Regions from separate parts of the Homo sapiens genome. Here all the other regions are linked to region 3. Evidence: promoter capture Hi-C in 16 types of primary human blood cells and fetal thymus (Javierre and others, 2016). All regions are on one chromosome and are shown on one strand. Each heading gives the region's core, a stretch centred on a gene start or on the middle of the fragment in contact. The rest is flanking DNA. Distances are from core to core; before and after follow the strand shown.

Region 1 (4,564 bases), core at 844-3,343, 190 kb after region 3:
ACAGGAAGAGGCGGAGTGTGTGTTAGATGAGATTGCCGTGGTCTGACTTGGTCCCCTGAACTGAACGGAACTGTGTGTTGATCATGTATTTACCGTCTCTCAGTGTATGTGCTGGTATTCATGAGCACAATCTTGCCTGGACATGAGTGGTTCCCCAGGAGTAGTATGGTGACTGCAGGTGAGCCAATCACCTCTCTGGGCGTTAGTTTTCACATCTGTACACTGGGTCCAGATGAGTGGTTTCCAAACCTGACCTTATAGCAAAATCACCAGGGGAAATTTTTCAAAACAGAATTCTAGACTTCAGAATCCCCAGGAATCTGTGCCTGTTTTCCCCTCTTCCCCAAAAGCTTTCCAGGTGATTCTGAAATGCATCCTGGTTTGGGATTCACTGATCTATGTGATAATCACGTACCTGAAGAAATTATCATAATGATTGTCATCCAATCTGAAAGATTGCCTGCGTGTTTGAACTATGAATGTCTGAGTTCTAATGTAACACCAGATCAGGCATACCCTAAAACTTTTCTTGGTTTTCCTTTTTTATTTCATGGTCATCTAAGAAAGAAGATGACAGATTTTAAAGTTAGGATTGTGGGAAGAAATGAATGTGAGGAAGATTGGTGTGGGTGTTAAGACTTCGTCAACATTTGGACATAAGCACTTGTGATCTGGGCTGCAGAACTCTTGTCCACGTTTGGAGTCATTTCACTGATACATTCTCAGCAAAGTAGGAATAGGCTGGGATCCTGTCCTCTACAAAAGGCCTGCTGCGGATTTATTATTTCTTTGATCTGGAGGTGGATGGCTGAGATTCTCTCAAAGACACCAGTAATTAATTTAACATAGCCAAAGTTACCAAAAGCAAAGACAAACTCACTTGGGCCTATTAGTTCACTGTTCCTAATTTAAGGAAACACTGGGGAAGAGTTTGTTAACTGGGGGTGAATTTGCTCCCCAAGAGTTTTCTGTGACTGCCTGGAGATATTTTTAGTTGTCAAATTTGGGAGGGAGGGTACTACTGGCATCTAGTAGGTAGAGGGCAGGGGTGCCGCTAAATATCCTACAGTGTAGGACAGGCCCCTACCCCCCAGCAAAGAATTATTCTCTCCACACTGTAGCAGTATCAAGATTGAGAAACCCTCTGTTAGAGTATTATAAAGTGTCTCCTTTTATCCTTCAAACTTTTTTCTTTTCTTTACCTGGGGACATTGTTTTTTTCTCTTCCTTTTGGTACTTTCATGCCTAGTAACAGTGAGTTAGATAATTAATCTGTCCAAATGTGATGCGAAAAATCGATGTAGTCTTAAACATGATTTACTTCAGTTTTGTAGGCAGGATTGTATAATAGGGTGAGTGCTGGCTTTGGAGTCAAACAGCCTGGGTCATCTTGGCTGTGCATTTTTTCACTGTGCGACTTGGGCAAGTTAACTTCCCTGTGCTTCAGTTTAGGGGATAACACAAATTTCAACTTCACTGGATTGTTATGAGACAGATATATCTTCATCTATGAAGAATATACCTAGATCTGAGAATATACTTAGAGTCCCTAACACAGTTTTTGGCACGTAGTAAATGTCAGAGGGTAGTGGTATTAATCATGGTGTTGCTATTAAGACAATGTAGACACTGGAGTAATGGTATGGAATGGCTGTAACGGTCCTTGTGTTCATATCACAGGTGCAAACGGAGGTTCTTCAGAAGAGGCAGCAGGAGAAAGCCCATATGATGAATGCTATTAAGAAATATCAGAAAGGTTGGTACATCTCTAATAGGGGAACGAGGGTAGCAGGTACTTTAGAGTTGATTTGAACACTTAGTGCTTTGGAGCCTTCTTGGTTGATGTGGACCTGTCGGATCAAAGTTTTGGGAATGGTGTTGGAGAGCAGGATGTGACTCTTAAAATCAGTGTAGCAAATAACAGCCTCATATGGTGGTTTAAACTTTTATTCTTAAAATACAATGGTGCTGATCAAAACTACTTCTTCACTTACAGGCTTCTCTGATAAACTGGATTTCCTTGAGGGAGATCAGAAACCTCTGGCACAGCGCAAGAAGGCAGGAGCCAAAGGCCAGCAGATGAGGAAGGGGTGAGAAGGGTTTTGGCATGGTTTCTTTGGTTCTGTGAGGTGCGATGGGGCCACAGGTCACGAGTATGGCAGACATAGCACCTCCACCGGCGCAGCCATAGAGTCCAGAGAGTGCAGCTGCTGCCTGGGGCCAGGACCCCTATGACTGTGTGATGGGCCCTTTTAGCCATGTCAGTCTTTGAAGAGTAAAAGAAGGCACTTTTTAAACTTCTTTTTTTTTTGGACAGTCTCATTCTGTCACTCAGGCTACAGTGCACTGGTACAGTCTTGGCTCACTGCAACCTCTGCCACCTGGGCTCAAGTAATTCTGTGCCTCAGCCTCCTGAGTAGCTGGAACTACAGGTGCCTGCCATCACACCCAGCTAATTTTTGTATTTGTAGTAGAGACAGGGTTTCACCATGTTGGCCAGGCTGGTTGTGAACTCCTGGCCTCAAGTGATTCACTCACCTCAGCCTCCCAAAGTGCTGGGATTATAGGTGTGAACCACTGCACCCATCCTAAGAAGGTACTTTTAAGTATGTGGCACCCTTTAAGTGAATGCTGAGTAAAGTTGATTCCCCATCACACAGTGCGATGGTTGAGAGTTCAGACCTAGGGTTCAGATCCCGACTCTACCACTCAGTAGGAGGGCAGTTTTGAACGAGTTACCATGCCTTTCTAAATGCTAATTGCCTCATCTGCTAAGTTGAGGAAATAGTGTCTGCCTCATAGTATGAAGACTGAAAGAGAGAATGTGGGCTCTCATTGTTTTTTCTAGTCTGCTTTTTTGCATACCTGGATACCAGGCCTAGGGGAAATGATAATTTCCATGTAAGATAGTAAGTGCTATGATAGAGGCATTTGGGGATTAGTACTGAGTCAGCTTTTATAAATACCTGACAGGGTCTGGGGTGGATTTCTGGAGGAGCGTTCGACTTGAGCATTGCTTGAAGCATGAGTAGGAATTAACCACGAGAATAGAAGAGAAGCTGGGTTTGGGAAGAAGTAAGAGCTTGAACGAGCAAAGCCATCGAGATGTGAAACCTCAGGGTTTTGTGAGGAACAGTAAGCCCTTGGTGTCACTGGGAATACAGTGCAAAGCAAGGAGGGGTGCAATGTGTTTGGGGGGACCTGGGCTGTGGGTTTGCCTTGTTGAGGAGCTTGGGCTTTGTCAGAAGGCAGTGGAGAGACTAGGTTGTAGGTTGTACTAACAGTAATGAGCAGGTTATATTCATGTTTTTAAAAAGATCACAGTGGATTTTGTATAAGTGACAGACTTGAGGGAAGCTGGGAAATTGACAAGGGTACTATTGCAAAAGTCGAGATAAGGATTGAAGAAACATTTAAGAGGTGAAATGAGCAGGACTCAGTAATTGAATTGGGTATAAAGAGTGAGAGAAGAACCAAGGCTGACTCCCACATGTTTAGCCTGTGTGTCTGGGTTGGTGGGAGCAGCGCCAGCCTCAAGTGAGGGCATATGTACAGGAAGCAGAGCCAGTCCAGGAGATGATGTGAATTTGGAGATGCTGAATTCAAGATTCCTATTGGATGACCAGTTTTACATTTGAATGTTATTCCATTTGAATGTTATTTGAATGCCTATAATTACATTTGAATGTTTACATTTGAACGTATTCATTACATTACATTTGAATGTTACAAATGTAACATATTACATTTGGATGTTAACTGCATGTATTTACCCTTGAGAGGAATAGACACAACTGAGGGTGATTTAATAAGATTTGGTTAAAATAGAAAGCTTTCTAAAGACAGCAGGAAGCCATGTAATATATGTAGAGCCTTCCCTGCTTCTTGCTTTATTTTCCTGCCCTGGTGGTCAAAACTGTAAATAGGTGAGCTAGATGAGTTTGTCTAGAGAGGCTGTAGCATAGGATTGTGGGGCCAAGGATGAGATTCTGGGTTACAGACGTGCCTAAGGGGCTTTGCTTATAGAAAGGAAACTGAGAGCATTGCTGGGCCATCAGGTTCATCAGGCTTTACAGTGCTGTAGTGATGTCTAGGACCATTCTTTTCCAGGCCCAGTGCTAAACGACGGTATAAAAACCAGAAGTTTGGTTTTGGTGGAAAGAAGAAAGGCTCAAAGTGGAACACTCGGGAGAGCTATGATGATGTATCTAGCTTCCGGGCCAAGACAGCTCATGGCAGAGGCCTCAAGAGGCCTGGCAAGAAAGGGTCAAATGTAAGTGAGCCCAGGTGCCCGGGTGAGGAGCAGGCTCAGCCTCCCCTCCCACTCCCAACCCTGCCCTCTCCCTTCAGTTCTGTTCGTCCTCACCCTGGGGCAGAAGGCAAGCTGCTATGTGACCAGATGTGGTATGTCTTTTTCTGTAGAAGAGACCTGGAAAACGAACAAGAGAGAAGATGAAGAACAGAACACACTAAATAGCATCTTTGAATACAAAGAACCAAGAAAAAGGAATGAAGACTCGCAATTTCACGACACACTTTGATCCCTTCTGTTGGTGTCATGTTG
Region 2 (4,446 bases), core at 1,054-3,553, 140 kb after region 3:
TGCTCACTGGCCCTTGTCCATTTGTCCTGGAAGGATCTGAGCAAGGCTCATGTCCTCTGGCACCACCTGGCCTGAGCCAAGTTCCTTCCCCTGTGCTCCCACAGCATCGTTCTTTCATGACACTTCATTCCACTGCACGTTTAATTCCCTTCTTTGTGATACTCTGCCCTCTTCCCAGGCTATCAGCTAAAGGATGCTTTATGTCTTTTATCTCTGTAATCCCAGACCTTAGTATAGTGTCAGGTACACAGCAGACCCCTCTGTAAATCCTAGGCAGAGAAGGTAAATCATGGCCTGAGAGTTACTTAGACTATAATGGAATATAAAGAGAGTTGGGAATTCTGGGAACATGCTTTTTAAGGGACAGGCGGAGGAAGAGCCAGGACAGAAGCGGGGAGGAGGAGTCAGAAAGGTTTTCAGGGAACAGAGTGTGGTCACAAGGATGGTAAGACAGAAGGGAGTTTCAAGAAGGAGCGGTATATGCACAAGTCATTTCCAGCCTGGCAGCGGTACTGTCAGGCCCATCTGGGGGCTGTGGTCAGAAGCCAGCTTGGGCACCTTCAGGCCTTTGGTTCAGCCTGCTGTCTCCTATTTGGCCTCTTCCCCTACCCTCTGGGAAGAACAGAAAAGATAACAGAGAAAAGGAAATGTCCCTTCTGCAGCAGGTCAGGCCCCCACTCTCACGGGCCCCTCCCTCATCCTCTTCTCCCTCTTTGCTTTTCCTGCAGAAAATTCTAGGGAGCTCTGGAAGGGATCTCCAGCGAATGCCAGGGGCTTGTCACCGTGCTTTGTGGCAGTGTTGTATTGCTGCTCTGATGGCTTTACTTGTTTCTATCCCTCACTTGACTGTAAGCTTCCTGGTCATGTCACAGGGCCCACAACTGTCTTTTCACATGTGCATCCCCAGTGCCTAGCAAATGGTAGGTGTTCAATAAACACACTTAAGATTCTGGACAAACAGCAATGACTGTGTAGCTTTGCGATCCTCCATGAGCCTTGTGTGTTTATCATCCATTCAGCTTCTCCCTTAGGAAGCGTAACACAGAGCTATGCACTCATATCTCTGCAAAACACACCTTTATGGAATGTTTACTGCATCAACAGGAAGGAAGGGATGTCCCTTTGGTATAGTGATTAAGGGAGGGGGCTCTGGATTAAATCTGGATTAGAACTCTAGTCCTATTAATTATTAGCACACTGACTTTGAACACATCCCTCAAGCTCTCCTAACTTGTTTTTTGAAACATGGGGAGAATGACAGTATCTTCTTCATAGAGATGTTGTGAGATTTAAATGAGAACATACTTTACTTTTGTAAATATTTATTGATTGTCTTCCATGTGCCCAGCATGTGCTAGGAACTGTTGGTCATAAGAGAACTGTATGTTTCATTATTCTTGGTTTCAAAGAGTAGGAAGAGAAAACCAGATCACAGAATAAAAGCAAAGCACAGTGTAAGTCAAGATGATCACATGGCAGAAAGACAGGCAGAGTCGGGTGGACAGTGGCAATGAGGAGGAGAGCTTGGTTGTGGGGACAGCAGATGTGCAGGGAGCCGTGGGGGTCTGCACTGGGCATAGGGTGTAGCCAGGCTGTAGAGGGCCCCAGTGCTGGACCTGCATCTGAATGCAGTCTGGTAAGTAATTCCATATCCCTCTTCATTAGATCCAGTTCTTACCTTTTCTTCCATGTCTGTTTTAGTCACAAGCACCTCTTCGGCAAAGCCCACCTCCCTCTCTCGCTTGATTCCCCGGCCATCCTTATCAAAGACCTTCCAGGTGAACAGGCAGCCATCCTCAGCAGCAGTCAGCAGGAACTGATCATCAAAGGTAAGCAACATCTGAAGAGAAAAAGGGTCATGGCCAGGAAGCTTTCAAGGCCACAGATGACCAGGGCTGAGCCAGCTGTTGCGCAAGGCTTCCCCCCATGCAATCCTGGGCACAGCCTCACAGGGAGGTAAACTTGATCCCAGGTAAGAATGAGAGAGGAGCCCTCACAGGCATCTGTTAATGAATAGAAGAAGTAAGGTTACGTCTACATTCTCTGTGGATTTGGAATCTGAAGAGTCAGCTATTATCTAGAACGAACAAGAAACTCTCAAAACTCAACAGTAAAAAAGCCAAACAATCCAATCAGAAAGTAGACAAAAGATAAGGAGACATTTCACCAGGGAAAATACACAGATGGCAAGTAAGCACATGAAGAGATACTCCGCATTATTAGCCATTTAGGAAAATGCAAAATTAGGACCATGATGAGATATCACTACACACCCATTAGAACAGCTAAAATAAAAAACAGTGACAACACCAAGTGCTGGCAATGATGCAGAGAAACTGGGTCTCATACATTCTTGGTAAGAATGTAAAATGGTACAGCCACTCTGGAAAATAGCTTGGCAGTTTAAAAAAAAACAAACCTGAATATACACTTACCATATGATTCAGCAATTATACTCCTGGGCATTTATCCCAGAGAAATGAAAACTTATTTCCACACAAAAGCCTGTATATGATTGGTCACAGCAGCTTTATTTATAATAGCTGAAAACTGGAAAAAATTAAAAATATCCTACAATAGGTGAATGGCTATACAAACTGTGATTTGTTTTTCATGGAATACTACTCAGAAATAAAAGGGAATAAACTATGATTGATACACAACACAACTTGGATGGATTTGAAGATTTAGCTGAGTGGAAAAAGCCACAATCAGGACATTAAGCTAAAAAGCTTCTGCACAGCAAAGGAAACAATCAACAGACTGAAGAGACGACCTGTCGAATGGGAGAAAATATTTGCAAACTATTGCTCTGACAAAAGACCAATATCCAGAATACCAAAGAACTCAAACAATTCAACATTAAACAAACAAAAAAATCTAAAAATCTCATTAAAAAGTGGGCTAAGGGGCGGGCGTGGTGGCTTACACCTGTAATCCCAGCACATTGGGAGGCTGAGGAGGGTGGATCACCTGAGGTCAGGAGTTTGAGACCGGCCTGGACAACATGGTGAAACCTCATCCGTACTAAAAATACAAAAATTAGCTGGGCGTGGTGGCAGGCACGGTAATCCCAGCTACTCGGGAGGCTGAGGCAGGAGAATCTCTTGAACCCAGGAGGGGGAGGTTGCAGTGAGCCGAGATTGAACCATTGCACTCCATCCTGGGTGACAAGAGCAAAACTCTATCTCAAAAAAAAAAAAAAAGTGGGCTAAGGACATGAATAGACATTTCTCAAAAGAAGACATACAAATGGCCAACAGGTATATGAAAAAATGCTCAACATCACTAATCATCAGGGAAATGCAAATCAAAACCACCATGAGATACCATCTTACCCCAATTAGAGTAGGTATTATCAAAAAGACAACAAATAACAGATTCTGGCAAGAATGTGGAGAAGAGAGAACTCTTATACACTGTTGGTGGGAAGGTAAATTAGTACAACCACTATGGAAAACAGTATGTAGACTTCTCAAAAAAACTAAAAATAGAACTACCATACAATCCTGCAATCTCATTACTGGATACTTTTCTAAAGGAAAGGAAATCAGCAGATTGAAAGGATACCTGCGCTCCACCGCCCCCCCCATATTTATTGTACCACCAATAGTAAAGATATGGAATCAACCTAAGTGTCCATCAGTGGATGAATGAATAAAGAAAATGTGGTATATATACCCACTGGAATACTATTTGGCCGTAAAAAATGAATGAAATCATGTTTTTGCAGCAACATGGATGGAACTGGAGGTCGTGAAGTTAAGTGAAATATGTCAGGTACAGAAAAACAAATATTGTGTGTTCTCATTCATATGTGAGAGCTAAAAAATGTTGACCCTAGTCGGGCATGATGGCATGTGCCTGTAATCCCAGCTACTTGGGAGGCTGAGGTGGAAGAATCGCTTGAACCCAGGAGGCGGTGGTTGCAGTGAGCGGAGATCATGCCATTGCACTCAAGCCTGGGCGACAGAGTGAGACTCTATCTCAAAAAAAAGAAAAAAAAGTTGACCTCATGGAAGTAGAGAGTGGCATGATAGATACTAGGGAAGAGTGTATGGGTTGGTGGGGTGCTAAAGAGAGATTGGCTAACAGATACAAACATTAGATAGAAGAAATCAGTTTTCTTTTCTTTCTTTCTTTCTTTTTTTTTTTTTTTGAGATAGAGTCTGCTATGTTGCCCAGGCTAAGAGTGCAGTGGCACGATCTCCCAGCTCACTGAAATCTCTGCTTCTCAGGTTCAAGCAATTCTCCTGCCTCAGCCTCTCGAGTAGCTGGGATTACAGGCGTGCACCACCATGCCTGGCTAATTTTTGTATTTTTAGTAGAGACGGGGGTTTCATCATGTTGGCCAGGCTGGTCTCAAACTCCTGACCTCAAGTGATCTGGCTGCCTCAGCCTCCCAAAGTGTTGGGATCACAGGCATGACCCACGTGCCAGGTCAAA
Region 3 (4,843 bases), core at 572-3,071:
CTCAGTGTGGCCACATGGTGTTCTGCTACCCGAACATCATGGTGGTGGATGTGGCCAGAACGTGAACCACTGGAGGAGGAAAGAAGGGAATCAGGTTCTGTGGCAGCACCAAATGCAAGCAAGCCAGAGCTGGTTCAGTTCAGGGGTGTACAGTCAAGGGGAGGGTGGGCAAATATCAGACTACCATAGACCAACAAAAACCACTGACCTGGACAGGATATAGCTGTTCCAGCTTAGGGAGCCCACTCGGGCAGAGTGACTGGTCATATTTCGAAGCCGTTTCTGCTGCTGCACATCCCATAGCTAGAGAGAGAAGCCCACTAGGATCAGAGATTGGGACTTGGCATTAATATCCTCCAGCTGTGCAAGCCCATTGGGACTGGTGAGAATGACAGCACTGGACACGTCTCACCTGCACCTCAGCACTGCTGGTGCCCACAGCCAAGTAGTTGCCCTCTTTGATCCAGGCCACAGAGGATATATATTCCCCAGGCTGCTCCATTTGCAAAAGCTGCAGGATGTCACCAGAGCTTGCACTCCACAGGTACACACTGTTGTCCAGTGCCACGGCCAGTACATTCCCAGAACTCCAATCCACAAGGTTCAGGTCTGTCAGAGGTGGAGAGAAGAGCATGAGCTTCCTTGTTTGTGTGGTCCCAGGCCCTCTTTCTCCATGCATGAGGCGAGGATAAGGATGCACTTACAATAGTCATTTCGGATTTCAGGCGCATCCAGGATACGGTCTGGCAGGGAAGGAATGTAACGGCAGGTCTTCCGGCTGGAGCCAGGAGTGGCCTTTTGGCTGTAGAGTACTTTCAGTCTGTTCTGATAACCTGTGGCAACGGAGTGAGTCTAGACGCTGGGAAAATCAACACCTCCCTTGCCCTCAATCTTAGATAGGAAGAGGAGACAGATATCTGTGCTCAGCCCTGGAGATGAACTGACACCTCCCTCCAGGAACCAGGAACTTCGGGTCTTACCCTCTGGCGCATTTTGTGGTTTTCCACTGAGCCGAAGGATCTTGGCTTCCTCTACATCAAAACCGTTCAGGTTCAAAGCCCAGGCTTTCTGATGTTCCTGGCATAAAGGGTAGTGAAGGAGCAAGATGGTATTATCCAAAGAACAGTCAGGTCCCGTGCCTTAAGCCCCTCTGGGACACATACCTTCTTGGTGGGCGTCTGGCTGTTTTCAGGCTGGTTCTCCTTGCTCAGGAGGAAGCTGGCCACCTCCATCTGGGCAGCACTGCGATGGGGGATATAGCGGTCACCGCCAGGTTTGCTAGGAGTGGTCTGAACCTTGGAACTGGATTTGCCTGGGGCGGAGAAAGAGAAGACAGTCTGACCAGGCTCCCCAGGGAGAAAGTATGAAGGCTGCTCTCACTCAGTTCCTTTGGCACCTCACTGACCAGGAGTTCGGCCCGGAGTCCTGCCGGCGCTGTGGGATCGGTTGGCGGCCCGCATGGGTGAGGGGGCCGGGCCTGCGGCTTCCTTGGCTTTGCGCTGCCAGCGCGCAGGGGGTGCATTGGGGATGGGTGCATCCAGCTGAAGCAGCGAGTGCAGGTCACTCTCGAACGCGAACTGTGCCATGGGAGCGCCCGCAGGGGGAGGGGTCCTTGCAGTTGGTGCCTACGGAGCCCTGGAGGAAAGGAGGCGACGGTGCTCAGGGGACAGAAAGGGACCCCTTCGCTCCTGGCCGGCCACAAAATCAGGGCCACCCTCGGCTGCAGCCCCTTCCGGCCTAGCACCCCCTCCCCCTGGCCACGGCCCCACCTCGGCTCAGCCCCACCACCTCTCACCGTGCCCTCCGGAGCAGTTCCGACCGGCTTTAACACGCCTGGCTTACGCCTCTTAAACTCTCCGCTCCGAGCGCCTATTGGCTCCTTCAAAATCCAACCGTCGCAACCGTTGCCCTAGCCCATTGGCCTCTCCGGCGAAGGGGGCGGGCCTTCCGGGGAAAGTCTCAGCTATCACGAGAGTCTAGCGGCGGAGCGCGATTTGAAGGGTACGAGAGGGGCTGGGAGCCGGCGCCAGAGGACTAGTACTGGAAAGCCGGCCGGGACAGGGCGGGGCAGGGCGGGGCCGGGTGGGGCCTGCGCTGCCTCAGCGTCCTGGAGTCGTCTCGGTTCGCCCTTTTGCGTGCCTTCCACCGCCGCGAGCTCGGAATGTCTGGCCCCGGGTGCTTCAGGGTCCGAGAACCTGCAGAAGTTCACACTTAAATCCTACACGAGAGTCGTATTTATGATGCAGAACTCGGTGCAGAACCCGATGGAGTGCCCAAGGCGCTTGAGCCGTTCCTAGAAGGGGAAGGAGAGCCGCGGGCGGCAGCGGGGCAGGGGACGGAATTGGGAAGCTTGGGAGCAGGAAGAAGGCCAGAGCTACTTAGGGTACATTCCACTTTTGCTTGGCGCCGGGTAGGAACCCTGCTAGAAAGGAAGTAACGTGTGTTTGTCTCGTTTGCTGTTGTTTTACAAACAGGGAAAATGAGGTTGAAAAGGGTGAATGAATTCCTTAAGGTCAAGAAAAAGGATCGGTATTCAAACCTGCCTATCTGGAAGATAAGCTTAGACTGCCCTACAGGAGGCACTGTGGCTTATCCCCTTGGGGCTTTAAAGATGTGAGGACCTTAGAGATCCATTAGTCTAACCTGTGCGTGGTGCAGCCTCCCCACCCCGACAACAAATCCATATTTTACAGATGGAGAAACGGAGGCCCAGGGAAGGGATGTGCCCGAGGTCATACAAAGAAGTTTGTGGGAATCCAGGTCTGACTCGCACTCAATCTAGTGCTCTAATAATGACTTGAGTGAATTGTATGAATGTGCTCAGAGGTGGAGCAGCAATCATAAAAGTAATAATGGTACCATTTATGGACCATCTAACTACTGTGTTAAAACAATTTACAGGCCATGCGCGGTGGCTCACGCTTGTAATCCCAGCACTTTGGGAGGCCGAGGCGGGCAGATCACGAAGTCAGAAGATCGAGACCATCCTGGCTAACACGGTGAAACCCCGTCTTTACTAAAAATACAAAAAATTAGCCGGGCTTGGTGGCGGGCGCCTGTAGTTCCAGCTACTCGAGAGGCTGAGGCAGGAGAATGGCGTGAACCCGGGAGGCGGAGCTTGCAGTGAGCCGAGATCGAGCCACTGCACTCCAGCCTGGGCAACAGAGCGATACTCTGTCTGAAAAAAAAAAAAAAAGTTTACATACATTATCGAGTTCAATCCTTAATCCCATAAGGCAGATAGATACCCCATCTTCCCTTTACAGAAAAAAGAAACTGGGTCAGAAAGATTAGAAACTTGCCCAAAGGCATGCAGCCAATAATAAGTAGGGGAGCCCAGGATTCAAACTATCTGACTAATCCCTGCAATCTAAACAATACGCTATACTGTCCCAGAAAGAGGCTGGAAAAATCATTTTCAGTCATTAGCTTAAAGTCCACTCCGATGCTTACAGATAATGTTATTATCTTTGACTTGAAGCCTTTGCATTCTCTATTTCCAATTACCTTGGAAAATAAGGAATTGGATATGCTTAGGTTAGAGGTGGGGAATTCCCAGAAAACATAGAAAAGGTTGTCTCATGTCAAGTTGGTCAGGGTCTTAAATGTTAAGCTAAAGACTTTGGACTTCATCTGCTAGGCATTGTGGTACCTGTGGGGTTTCTGTGTAGGGAAGGACCAAATAAAACATCTGAGGGGGGGGATATGGCAATAATTTGCAACTTCTGGTGGTAGCTATAGAGAAGGATAAAGGGTATAGCCTCAGGGAATTTGTACATTTAAAAATAAAGGATTTGGGCAGGTTGTCATGGTTCACTCCTGTAATCCCAGCACTTTGGGAGGCCAAGGCGGGCAGATCACTTGAAGTCAGTAGTTCAAGACTAGTCGGGCCAATGTGGCGAAACCCTGTCTCTACTAGAAGTACAAAATTAGCCAGGTGTGGTGGTGCACACCTGTAATCCCAGCTACCTGGGAGGCTGAGGCAGGGGAATCGCTTGAACCTGGGAGGCGCAGGTTGTAGTGAGCGAGGTCGCGCCACTGCACTCTAGCCTGGGTGACAGAGGGAGACTTTGTCTCAAAATAATAATAATAATAAATGAATGAAGGAAGGCAATGGAAATTATCCAGACATGGATCTTGAAGTGGGAGATACCCTAATATATGTAGTCAAGTGGAATGATGACAGAAAGGGTCAGATTTGGCCATTGAAAATCAAATTACCGATGACTTTGGAGAGAGCAGGATCAGGAAAGTGGGTGCTTGAGATCCATTTTGGAGGAGTTGCGGAAAGAATGAAATAGGGAGAACGGGAAGCCGGCAAGTATAGGTGACTTGTGTAGCCCATCCCCTGATATCCTCTATATTCGTTTGCTAGAGTTACTGTAACAAAGTACCACAAACTGGCTTAAATGACAGAAATTGGTTGTCTCACAATTCTGGAGGTTAGAAGTTCCAGATCAAGGTGTCATGAGAGTTGTGTGAGAACCGTGAGGAAGAATCTGTTCCATGCCTCTCTCCTGGCTTCTGGTGGTGGTTTGCCGGCAATCTTTGTCATTCCTTGGCTTATAGAAGAATCGCCCTGTTCTCTGCCTTCATCTTCACTTGGCTTTCTTTCTGTGTGTATGTGTGTCCAATTTTCTCTTTTTATAAGAATACCAATCATATTGAACTAGGGCCCTGACCTCATCTTAACTAATTATATCTGCAATGACCCTATTTCCTAATAAGGTCGTATTTGAAGTACTGGGAGTTAAGACTTCAACATCTGGCTGGGTGTGGTGGCTTACACTTGTAATCCCAGCACTTTGGAAGGCCAAGGCCAGAGGATTGCTTGAGCTCATGA

The links. The method cuts DNA at HindIII sites, captures the fragments that hold promoters and counts their contacts. A CHiCAGO score of 5 or more calls a contact.
Region 1: a contact is called between a fragment that was not itself captured here and the fragment with the promoter of CDC20 in region 3, in 1 of 17 cell types (total B cells). The highest score is 5.1, in total B cells.
Region 2: a contact is called between a fragment that was not itself captured here and the fragment with the promoter of CDC20 in region 3, in 1 of 17 cell types (endothelial precursors). The highest score is 5.4, in endothelial precursors.

Annotation. Positions count from the first base shown.
Region 1 is chr1:43,164,352-43,168,915 of GRCh38, reverse strand. It overlaps EBNA1BP2 (EBNA1 binding protein 2), which reads left to right. Exons shown (of 9, transcript NM_006824.3): 6 at 1,681-1,756; 7 at 1,997-2,090; 8 at 4,111-4,273; 9 at 4,423-4,564. The coding sequence ends at 4,473. Among named protein-coding and RNA genes, the nearest start is that of MIR6733, 5.1 kb to the left of the region's middle. The HindIII fragment of the contact is 3,482 bases long and covers 353-3,834 here.
Region 2 is chr1:43,212,649-43,217,094 of GRCh38, reverse strand. It overlaps CFAP57 (cilia and flagella associated protein 57), which reads right to left. Exons shown (of 23, transcript NM_001378189.1): 12 at 1,679-1,840. LOC105378685 (a long non-coding RNA gene) reads left to right here. Exons shown (of 5, transcript XR_007066041.1): 2 at 1,702-1,829. Among named protein-coding and RNA genes, the nearest start is that of CFAP57, 43 kb to the right of the region's middle. The HindIII fragment of the contact is 862 bases long and covers 1,873-2,734 here.
Region 3 is chr1:43,355,959-43,360,801 of GRCh38, reverse strand. CDC20 (cell division cycle 20) reads right to left here and starts at 1,821. Exons shown (of 11, transcript NM_001255.3): 1 at 1,796-1,821; 2 at 1,406-1,635; 3 at 1,164-1,312; 4 at 981-1,077; 5 at 705-833; 6 at 413-609; 7 at 209-303; 8 at 1-69. The coding sequence starts at 1,586. CDC20-DT (CDC20 divergent transcript) reads left to right here and starts at 2,129. Exons shown (of 4, transcript NR_183650.1): 1 at 2,129-2,252; 2 at 2,694-2,760; 3 at 2,902-2,999. RefSeq lists silencers at 1,633-1,782, 1,973-2,082 and enhancers at 1,525-2,033, 2,373-2,432, 2,544-3,052. The HindIII fragment of the contact is 10,275 bases long and covers 1-2,351 here.